2 separate regions of the Homo sapiens genome follow, and region 2 is linked to region 1. The links are contacts of gene promoters, found by promoter capture Hi-C in human tissues and cell types (Jung and others, 2019). All regions are on one chromosome and are shown on one strand. Each heading gives the region's core, a stretch centred on a gene start or on the middle of the fragment in contact. The rest is flanking DNA. Distances are from core to core; before and after follow the strand shown.

Region 1 (5,187 bases), core at 1,984-4,483:
CTCTCACTCTGATTACACCATGGTTACAAAGTAGCATTTCAGCAGTAAAACTCAAAAGAATGAAACCTAGAGAAGGGGGATAGTGAATTTGGATTACATCTATCCTTTCTGGACAATGAAGAACTATCATCTACTGTCATGTTGAGCGACAAAGATCTTTCACCTCTTCCCCACATCCCTTTGGTATTTTGGATTATCAAAGAATTGTTGTTTTAAAATGCCAGAAAAAAAAATTGTGTGTGTGTTGGGGTGGTGGTAATACTTTTAGGAAAAATAATGATGCTAATGATTCTGCTACATGTTTTTGGAGATCTTTATCCCAACCTGATCCCTGCATTTAGACGCCTTCAGAGTTCAGGGACATATGGTCAGTGGAGCAAGGAAAGGAGCAGCCCACTCACCATCATGGCCCTCCAACCCATGAATGATCTGATTCTCTCAAGAGTTGTCTTGGATTGCATGAGTGACTAGCTGAAGAGTCATTAGCTAAGTCTTTTCCATTTCTCCTGCTATTTCTCTTCTCAAGTACATTAAAATACTGCCTAATCACATTTCACATATTGTAAAAATTGATGAAAGGGAAAATGTTAAAGTATTAATTCCATTTTTGAGGGTACAAGACTAATACATGCAAACAGCACATCTCTTTGTTTAACACAAAGACTCACGTGTCGAATTCTGCACCCCTTCCACATGCACAGCATTTTAGAACTCTGCAAGATAGCCATTTTGCAAGAGTGTAGAAGTAACAGTTTGCTTGGAGGATGTGTGGGTATAAATAGATATGTAGACAGAAGGAGAAATTTACAGCTCAAAAATAATAGCACAGGAAAAAATACAAATTAAAAGCAGAATATTGACAGAATTCCTCCTTTCCGAGCTTAAGATTTAAGTCGTTTAACCTGCAGCATCCTTCAATTCCAGGTGTTCTGAGACCAGCCCGATCCCCACCTAGACCTACCCCTCTGCAATAGGCCTCCCGGGATCTCTGGGCCCCTTGTCAACCCTTTAGACAGCAAGTGGATTTCAGGGCAACAATCACAGTAATCTCAATCATTATTTTTATCTGTTTTAAAGGGCATAGAAAGGATGCCTAGAAAGGTAAAGACAGGAGACAGGGAGAGAGGCATGAAGGTGACAAGGGGAATAAAGCCAACCTGAAAAAAAAAAAAAAAAAGGATTTCTAGATTCCCATAAAAATCGGAGCTTTAGTTCTGGGTGAATAAAATGCTATTTAACTGGAAAATCACACAGGTCTCCTGGCTGGCTATGTCTATAGATATAGATACATTCCCCTGATGCCATCCAACATCTTTTGTGCCTGCATACATCCACCCCCACTGCCCCCCAAAAGCCCAAAACCTGTTAGATGAGAGAAGAAAAAGAAAAAACATGGGAGATTTCCTTCTTTGTAATAAGCCTTTTTTCCCAAAACAGCATTATTTTCATATCTTGTGACCTTTTCTTCCAAAAAGATCCACTTGAGGGACTCGAAGAGATAGATAAAATGAGGAATCCCTACCCCAGGTGAGGAAAAAATAAAATAGAATTTGCCCTACCTTGGTTTGTAGAAGCCAAACCTCTAGACGGACAGATTAAGGGAGTGAGCATGTTGGGAATGTCCAGTCCCTTCTTCTCGCTTGCATATCCACATAAGAAAGACGAAGGATAAATGAACGGAAGATAATTTAAAATCCAATTTAGCGTAAATTTTGTTTTAATCTTGTGTCTTGAAGAGATGCAAATTCAAAAAAAAAAAGATTTAATTCAAAGGTAATTCAGGGTATGGAGAGCAGCTCACAATGCAGAATCCAGAGTAATTATTCCGTGTGCATGTGAGGTTAGTGGCTGGAATAGATTTTTAACGCTTCTTCTGGCAATTACGGTTTTTGGTTTTTGGAGCGTTAGTGGAGGAGGCTCTGTGTGGAGAAGCTGGGGGCCGGCTCCGTCCCTCGGTGGAGCATGGTCATTCCCAAAGCGTCCCCTTCCTAAGGGGGAAAAAGAGGCGGTCAGGGCTTGATTCGCGTGTCCCCCGGAGGGTGAGAAAAATGCATTCCGAAAAAGATATCAATTCGTTTTAAGGAAAGGGGGGAGGAAACCCCGCATTTCCCACAGAGTGCACACGAGAGGAATTGAAAACAGCTGGTACCGGTCTATAAATAATTCAGAAAAGGTCTGGCTATACCATTCCTGGGACAGGCACGGATGAGAGGTGGGAAAGCCAACCTGAATGGAAGAGGAGAGAGGGAGGGAGCGAGCGAAGGAGGGAAGTGGGAAGGAAGGAGGAAGGGGGGGAGAAGCGGCACCATACAGCAACACACACTCACACACACGCAGAAACACAATTCCCACTTAACTCGCCAGCGAGTGCGGCCCCCAGCCCCATCTGCATTGCTGCTGACTTGTCTCGCTCGCTCTCCCCATCGCCTCCAGCAGCAGCGCCGCCTCCCACCCCGGGCTTGTGCTGAATGGGTTCTGATTGTGCACGGGGTGCACACTGGGCATTTCTTGGAAGGGGCACACTGACGCGCGCACACACGCCCCCGACGCGCACGCGCCCCGCGCGCACTCACACTCACCCCCGCGCACACTCACCCCCGCGCACACTCACGCTGCCGCCGCGCTGAGGTGCAGCGCACGGGGCTTCACCTGCAACGTGTCGATTGGACGGATGGGCTCGGCGCGTGGGTCCGGCCCGGGGCGCCGCTGCCCTGCCCCTCTGCTAGGTGAAGGGATGAAACCCCCCAAAAGACCAGAGACAGCCCTACCCAGTCACAGCACCCCCTCCCCCACAAAAAAAAAAAACCTTTAAAAAAGCCACGTCCAAATTAGCAAGTGCCGGGTTCTGCTGGATTTCAGAGCTTTACCTCATGCCAGATTCGTTCACGATTTCACGGCTTCGACCCTTTATCTGCCTGACACCCCCAAACCCCTACATTCAAAGGAGAGACTCCAAAGCCCATCTTTACGTACCGGCTCCGAGCGCCTCCGCGGTTGCAGTCTGCGGAGAGGGGTGGCCGGTGGCTGGGAATGGAGGGTTTTCCTTTCCTGCAAAGCAGGATTAATGATCCGTCTCGGGGGTTTTGAAGTTCATGACTCTTCTTTGCAAGGCAAAAGGATATGCATTCGGACGCCAGCACTACTGGATGGTGGTGATCAAGAATCACCCTTGACGAGCACTCTCGATAGAGCGAAGCCCCGAGATTTCCTAGAGGTGAAGAAGCCGGAGGAAGTGGTTTTTGAAAGGGGGTGGGGGGAACCTTCCTTTCTCAAAAAGAGGTGGGGGGTGGAGAGGCAGGAGCCCAGATTCCAGTTGGTGAGGATCGGAGCCGGGGGAAGGGAAGCGGGCGGGGGCAGGCTGTGCAAGTCAACCGCGCGGCAGCCGGAGAGGGAGAGCAGGAGGGGAGGAGGGGAGCGTCAGAAAAATGGGTATTAATCACCGGGGACGGGGGGAGGCGCGGGGAACGCAGGTTGCCTGGTCTGGATTTGGGTCTCACACTCAAAAACGTGCCGCGCACACACACACAGACACACACACACCCCCTACCTCGCACACCCTGACTCCGGGGGGAGGAGAAACCCACGAAGCTGGGGAAGATACTGCTTCTGCTCCCAGGGGCGGGTGTGAGCGCGCGTGTCCTCTTTCTCCACACCCCCCACCCCACCCCACCCCCAAGCCCCTGCACCCCCTCACTCCTCTTGCTAAGACTCTGGCGGAGGCAGCTTCCCACGTCATGTGCTGGGGAAGTGGGGTGGTAAGGTGGATGGAAGGGGGACGGAAGGGGGAAGAAGCTTAGCCCGAGTCCGTGGCGCCTCCTCCCGGCCGCAGCGGGGAACAGCACCGACGGAGAGCGGCTGAGGGGCGAGGGGAGCTAGACAGTGCCCCCCGTGGGCGGCCCGCGGGCTGCGGAAAGCATCTCCAAGGCGGAGCTGTAGTTCGAAATTGAAGACCCTTGCTGTATTTTCCATAAATCAGCCTGTGCTTCCTACGAGCATTCTGTGTGTCGGACGCAGTCTGGGACCGGGTTCTTTCTTGCCTTCAAGGAGCTTAAGATCTATCTGAGCACACGAGGCTGACGCCTAACACAATAGAAAACAAAGCAAAGCAGGTGTCATTCGTGGCTAAATTGTATAGTATGGACCATACGCGTGCTTTTCTGGCTGCTAGTGAAGGCGGGAGGAGTTTGACATTTTTTATTAAAGTGGATCCTGTTATTTAAATGCCTTGAGAAGAGAAGATGGTGAGGCCCGTGAATAATCCCTAAAGGAAACTGGATTTCCTGGCATTTACAAACCCACCCTCTTTGAAAAGGCAAACATCCATTCATTTCTCTTCCTATTGAACTCTTTTATATTTTAATAGCCCTTATCACCACCTGTAGTATTGTTTACTTTTAACATTAATATTATTGTATATGCATCATTTTCATTCTCATCCATTGTCTTTTCAAATATCTAGAATACTACAGTGGTGGAACATTTTCATATTGGTTATATCATGGGCTTCTCACCAGCATTCCTGAGAAGCGGCCATACAAACGCACAGGAGAGAAGGCTGTGTGAGTGGATATACCTAGTGGCTTGGAACTTTAGTCTGTAGAAGCCATCAGATATGTTTTTGCTGTCCTGTAGACCAGACTACTCATACTTCTGAGCTACAGTAATTCTTCTGTTTCCTGGTTTTTCTCAGGCTTAATTTTTGAATCTAACATATTTAACACACACGAACACATAAGCATTGTGTGAAAACACAAATAGAGTGTGTTCACATGCAAATTATTCCTTCTCAGTAATGGTTTTCTATTTTTCTAAGAGTTAGAACTGATCTTTCACTACTTTGGGGAAGTGTCGAAGCACCCCAGAGTTGCTGTGCCCTCTTGATACACAACAGCCAACCCAAGCCCCTCTAATAATTTGTCTCCAGGGTTTTCAAGTTCACCTGCCTATGGGCAGGTTTGCAGTTGTTAGAACGCCGATTCCAAGAGGAGTATAGAATGCAGAAAGCAAGAACCTAATAGAGATTTCCTGAAACACTCTTCCCTGAATTTTCCAGGAAAATTACCGTTACCTGGTCCATTAGCTTCAGAATAACATCCAAGCTCACTCAAGGATCTTCATGGGTTGACCTTGAATCTACTTTTTAAATTTTTATATTTTTTATTTCTGGCTCATAGCCCACGTTCCCCT
Region 2 (5,187 bases), core at 2,015-4,514, 730 kb before region 1:
CATCAATATTTGTGACTCCTATAGCTTATTGAATATGTATACTTAGCCAATTCATTTAGCACAAATTCCTTCTTATCCTTCCCTCCCTTGGAGCATTTGCTCTGGGCTTCTGCTGAAGTCTACACTTCCCAGACTGCAGGATGGCTAGGCTGCCCCCTTTTTTTTTTTTAAATTTTACTTTAAGTTCTGGGATACATGTGCAGAACATGCAGGTTTGTTACATAGGTATACATGTGCCATGGTGGTTTGCTGCATCTATCAACCCATCATTTAGATTTTAAGCCCCACATGCATTAGGTATTTGTCCTAATGCTCTCCCTCCACTTGCCCCCACCACCACCCCAACAGGTGCTGGTGTGTGTTGTTCCGCTCCCTGTGTCCCTGTGTTCTCATTGTTCAACTCCCACTTATTAGTGAGAACATGCGGTGTTTGGTTTTCTGTTCCTGTGTTAGTGTGCTGAGAATGATGGCTTCCTGCTACATCCATGTCCCTGCAAAGGATATGAACTCATTCTTTTTTATGACTGCATAGTATTCCATGGTGTATATGTGCCACATTTTCTTTATCCAGCCTATCATTGATGGGCATTTGGGTTGGCTCCAAGTCTTTGCTATTGTAAACTGCAGGCTGCACTTTTTATGAGAGATAAAGCTCTCCTCTCTAAATTCATGAACCTCATGATTCTTCCATTCACAGAACCTATAGGAGATAGATAGATAGGTATGAGAGGTTATTTACGAGGGGAATTGGCTCATGTGATTATGGAAGCCTAGAAGTGTCATAACAGGCTATCTGCAAGCTGGAGACCCTGGGGTGCCAGTAGCATGGTTCAAACCAAGTCCCAAAGCTTCAGAACCAGGGAAGCCAGTGATGTCACTCTCAGTCTGAGGCTGAAGGCCTGAGAACCTGGGTGACTGCTAGTGTAAGTCATGGAGTCCCAGTGCTGAAGAGTCTGGCGCTGTGCTGTCTTCAGGCAGGAGGAAGAGAGTGTCCCAGCTCCAGGAGAGACAGAGAGGAAATCCTTTCTCTCATTCTTTGTCCTATCCTGGCCTCCAGCTGACTGGATGGTGTCTGCCCACACTGAGCAGGTCTTCCCTCCTCAGTCCACTGACTCACCTGCTAATCTCTGGAAACACCCTCACAGACACACCAAGAAGGAATGCTTGACCAGTTCTCCAGGCATTCCTTAATCTAGCCAAGTTGACATCTAAAAGTAACCATCACAGTGTATAATGTATTTAGATGTTTGTTTATTTTCTGCCTCTTCCACTAAATTGTAAGATCCAGGATAACAATGACTTGGTACCCCCAGCACTTAGAACTAAACTTTGCTTGGAACAGAGGCCACCAATAAAACATGGCTAGAGAGAAGAATGAAGGAAGGAATGATTACCAGCAGCAATAGAGACTAATGCTTCTTCTAGGGCTGGGGAGAAGAAGGCTCCCCACAATCACTTTTTTTTTAGCATCTTGTGCCCACCCACATGGCCAAAGGATTAACATGTACTGATGAACTTAATGCCTCAATTCGTTGCCAGGCACTGAATCATTCACTGTGAATGGTTCCAATTAAGGTTTACCCTTAGACTAGGAGTGGGGTCTATTCAACCTAAACACCTGGGCTGTTACACAGCAGGAATAGCGGACAGGTCAGAATGGATGTTGAGAGGCAACTCCATTTCCCGCTACAAGAGTTCAGAGGCGGTCTATCAGAAATAATGAGCTTCAAACTGGGCATTGCGTTCCAACTTGCACATGATAAGTGGTCACCATACAAAGTCAGTGACAGAATACATACCTCCCCAAGCCTCGCTCCTCCCTCCTTCTTCCAGCTAAATCCTTTGGTCTAAAACATACAGTTTGTTATTCTGCAAAATAAATAAAAAGGATACACTGTCACACAGTTGCTTTGAATGGGATGAAAAAAATGAATGAACAAACCAATGGTTAAAATTCTGTACAAATGGACTGCACACCAAATGGGAACAGGCATGATGCAGAACACCTGAGTAGCTGGGGTTACGGGCATGCACCACCGTGCCAGCCTGGATTTTTGTATTTTTAGTAGATATGGGGTTTCACTATGTTGGCCAGGCTGGTCTTGAACTCCTGGCCTCAAGTGATCTGCCCGCCTCCCAAAGTGCTGGGATTACAAGCATGAGCCACTGCGCCCAGCCAGCAGATTGCCTTTGGACTTGAACTCCAACTCTTCCTGGTTTCCAGTCTGCTGGCCTACTCTGCAGACTTTGGACTTTCCAAGCTTCCACAATCACGTGAGCCAATTTCTTAAAATCTCTCTCTCTCTCTATCTCCCCACACCTATCCTGTTGGTTCCATTTTTCTGGAGAACCTTAACTGACACAGATTATCCCCTGGGGTACTGATGATAAAATTGTGGCAAAAAACAATATGTTGTCCGGGAGCCTATGTTGTTTTCTAACAGTAGCAGTTGTGCACACCTCGGCCATGGTGACAGATAAAACTTGTGCATCTTCCAACTGATAACTGTTACTACTGGTCCTGGAGACTCATTACTTTAGGGAACTATAAGCAGTTTATGCATTTTCAAAACCACTGGGGTGGTCAAACAGACTAGAAAGATCATATTCCTAGGATCTATTTATGGGAGCAAGCATAGAGTGATCAGGCCAGGCAATAAGACCAGGCACCAGAGCAAGATTCAATAAACTGACTGGACTATGATTCAACTGAATCATTGTTTCTGGAGTCTCTGTGCCTTTGTACATGCTGTTCCCTCTGCCTAGAAGAGTCCTACTTTCACTATGTATTAGTCAGGGTTCTCCAGGAAAACAGACCAATGGGATATGTATATATCCAGAAATAGATTTATTTTAAGGAATAGGTTCATGCAATTATGTCAAGTCCAAAATCTGCAGGATGGGCCAGCAGGCTGGACACCCAGGGCAGAGCCAATGTTGCAGTTCATTTCTGAAGGCCATCTGCTGGCAGGATTCCTTCCGGCTCAGGGAGATCAGTCTTTTGCTCTATTCAGATAATTGAGTGAGGCCCACCCACATTAAGGAGGGCAATTTGCTTTACTCAAAGTCCATCTATTTAAATGTCAATCTCATCTGAAAACACCCTTACAGAAACATCCAGAAGATTGTTTGACCGAATATCTGGGCACTGTGGCCCAGCCACACTGACACATAAAATTAACCATCACCTATTGTTTGCTGGGAATTTCTCCCCATTCTTTAAGGTTCAGTTGAAACATCTTGGCAACATCAAGCTGCTTCTTCATTCCACCGCTCGGCCTCAGGACATTCTTATATTTGAATCCCTGTCCCACAGTACTGTAATGATTTACTCACATGCCTGTGGTCTCTCCTAGACAGTGAGCTTCCAATGGCATGGACCATGGGTCTACTGGAGACAATATTGCAAGATGATATTCTAGACTCTACCCAATGCCTAGCATACAGAGTTGTTCAATGCAATTCATAGAAGAAGGTGATAAATTAATGGAGGGGAATCAGGAGCTAGAAATAATAGCAGCATTGAGTTATTTGATCTCCAAATAATGAGCTTCTTCTCCTCTCCACCCCCCGACAAATATTTGTTGCTTCGGAGATGCAACAGAGCTAGCGGATCTACCTGGTCACTCTGTCCCAAGAACACATGTACACACATACCCATATTCATTATGACAGACCATGAAATGATTTGCCAAGTCAGCCTCTTGCTAAATACCTGAACTTGGGCATGATGCTTACATTCCAAAAGCTTGTTTTCTTTTAAAATCAATCATATGAGAACAACAATAATAATACCTATAGCACAGTGTTGTTAGAAAAATTAAGTGCCTATCATATAGTGGGTCCTTAGTAAAAGTTGATCCTCTTCCCTTAACCATGTTTGTTTTTATTTTTGAGACAGGGTCTTGCTCTGTTGCCAAGGCTGGAGTGCAGTGGTGTGATCTCATCTCACTGCAACCTCCACCTACCGGGTTCAAATGATTCTCATGCCTCAGCCTCCTGAGCAGCTGGGATTACAGGTGCCCACCATGACACCTGGCTAATTTTTGTATTTTTAATAGAAACAGGGTTTCACCATGTTGGTCAGGCTGTTCTGGAACTCCTGACCTCAAGTGATCCTCCCGCCTTGGACTCCTGAAGTGCTGAGATTACAGGCATGAGCCACCGTGCCTGGTCCCCTTGACCATGTTTGAGTTAACATCTAGTATATCGTGCATTAACTATTGAAAGTAACAAAGAACGTGTCAGTGAGTTCCAAAGATACTCTTAATGTCTCTTGATGACCTGGCCTTCTTATTTGTCTTCTTTCACTTTTTGACCAAAAGGAAGAACATAGATTGTGTAGGCAGTGGTCCCACACGAAAGAAGGAGAAGATAACTGGTGTGTGCACTATTTTATACTTTATTGAAATCAGTGATTCTTAATCTTGTCAGGAACACAGGCACTTTTGAGGATCTGAAGATAGCTAAGGACTCTTTCCCCAGAAAAATGCATATAAATGTGACACTTTGCATATAATCCTAAGATGTTCATGGACCCCACACACTCAAGGTTAAGAATCCTGAATCAAAATCTCCTCATTTGCTGCCTGTCCCTTGCTTCACATGTTCTGTCTCTCTCTATATATAGATACACACACATGCTCTCTGTTTCTCTCTCTGTATGCGCACAATGTTTCTCTATCTCTCTCTATTTCTGTTTCTCTTCCACATCTATATATTCATTCATCTGCTTAACTCACATGTTTAGGATTAGGATAAAGCTTATGGATGGCTAGGTGGATGGATAGAAAAGTCGAGGACCAGAAGGAGCTGTGGAAAGAAACACTTTAGACAAATTTAACAGAGTTTAATTGGGCAAAGAAAGATTCGTGAATTGGGCAGCTCTCAGAACCAGAATAGGTTCAGAGCGACTCCCGGTATTCACAGAAAAAGGAAAGTGCCATACAACGGAAGTGAGGACAGAAACAGCTGGATTGGCTACAGCTGGGCATTTGCCTTATTTGAACCTGCTTTGAACAGTTGGCTGCCTGTGGTTGGCTGAGACTTAGTTACCTCTTACAAGAGTAGGTTACAGTGTGTTTACGTATGCACATCAAGTTAGGTTACAGTTCATTATGTACAAAGAATGGCTCCTTTTGTAATTATTATTGTTGCTTTCACATGATTGATTTTAAAAGAAAACAA

What was found. Contacts are between HindIII fragments. The study calls those that stand out against the background at their distance.
Region 2: a contact is called between a fragment that was not itself captured here and the fragment with the promoter of GRIN2B in region 1, in 1 of the 25 tissues and cell types used here (mesendoderm cells).

The regions. Positions count from the first base shown.
Region 1 is chr12:13,978,369-13,983,555 of GRCh38, forward strand. GRIN2B (glutamate ionotropic receptor NMDA type subunit 2B) reads right to left here and starts at 3,234. Exons shown (of 14, transcript NM_000834.5): 1 at 2,974-3,234; 2 at 1,560-1,988. The HindIII fragment of the contact is 12,156 bases long and covers 1-5,187 here.
Region 2 is chr12:13,249,510-13,254,696 of GRCh38, forward strand. No RefSeq gene overlaps it. Among named protein-coding and RNA genes, the nearest start is that of EMP1, 55 kb to the left of the region's middle. The HindIII fragment of the contact is 3,421 bases long and covers 1,555-4,975 here.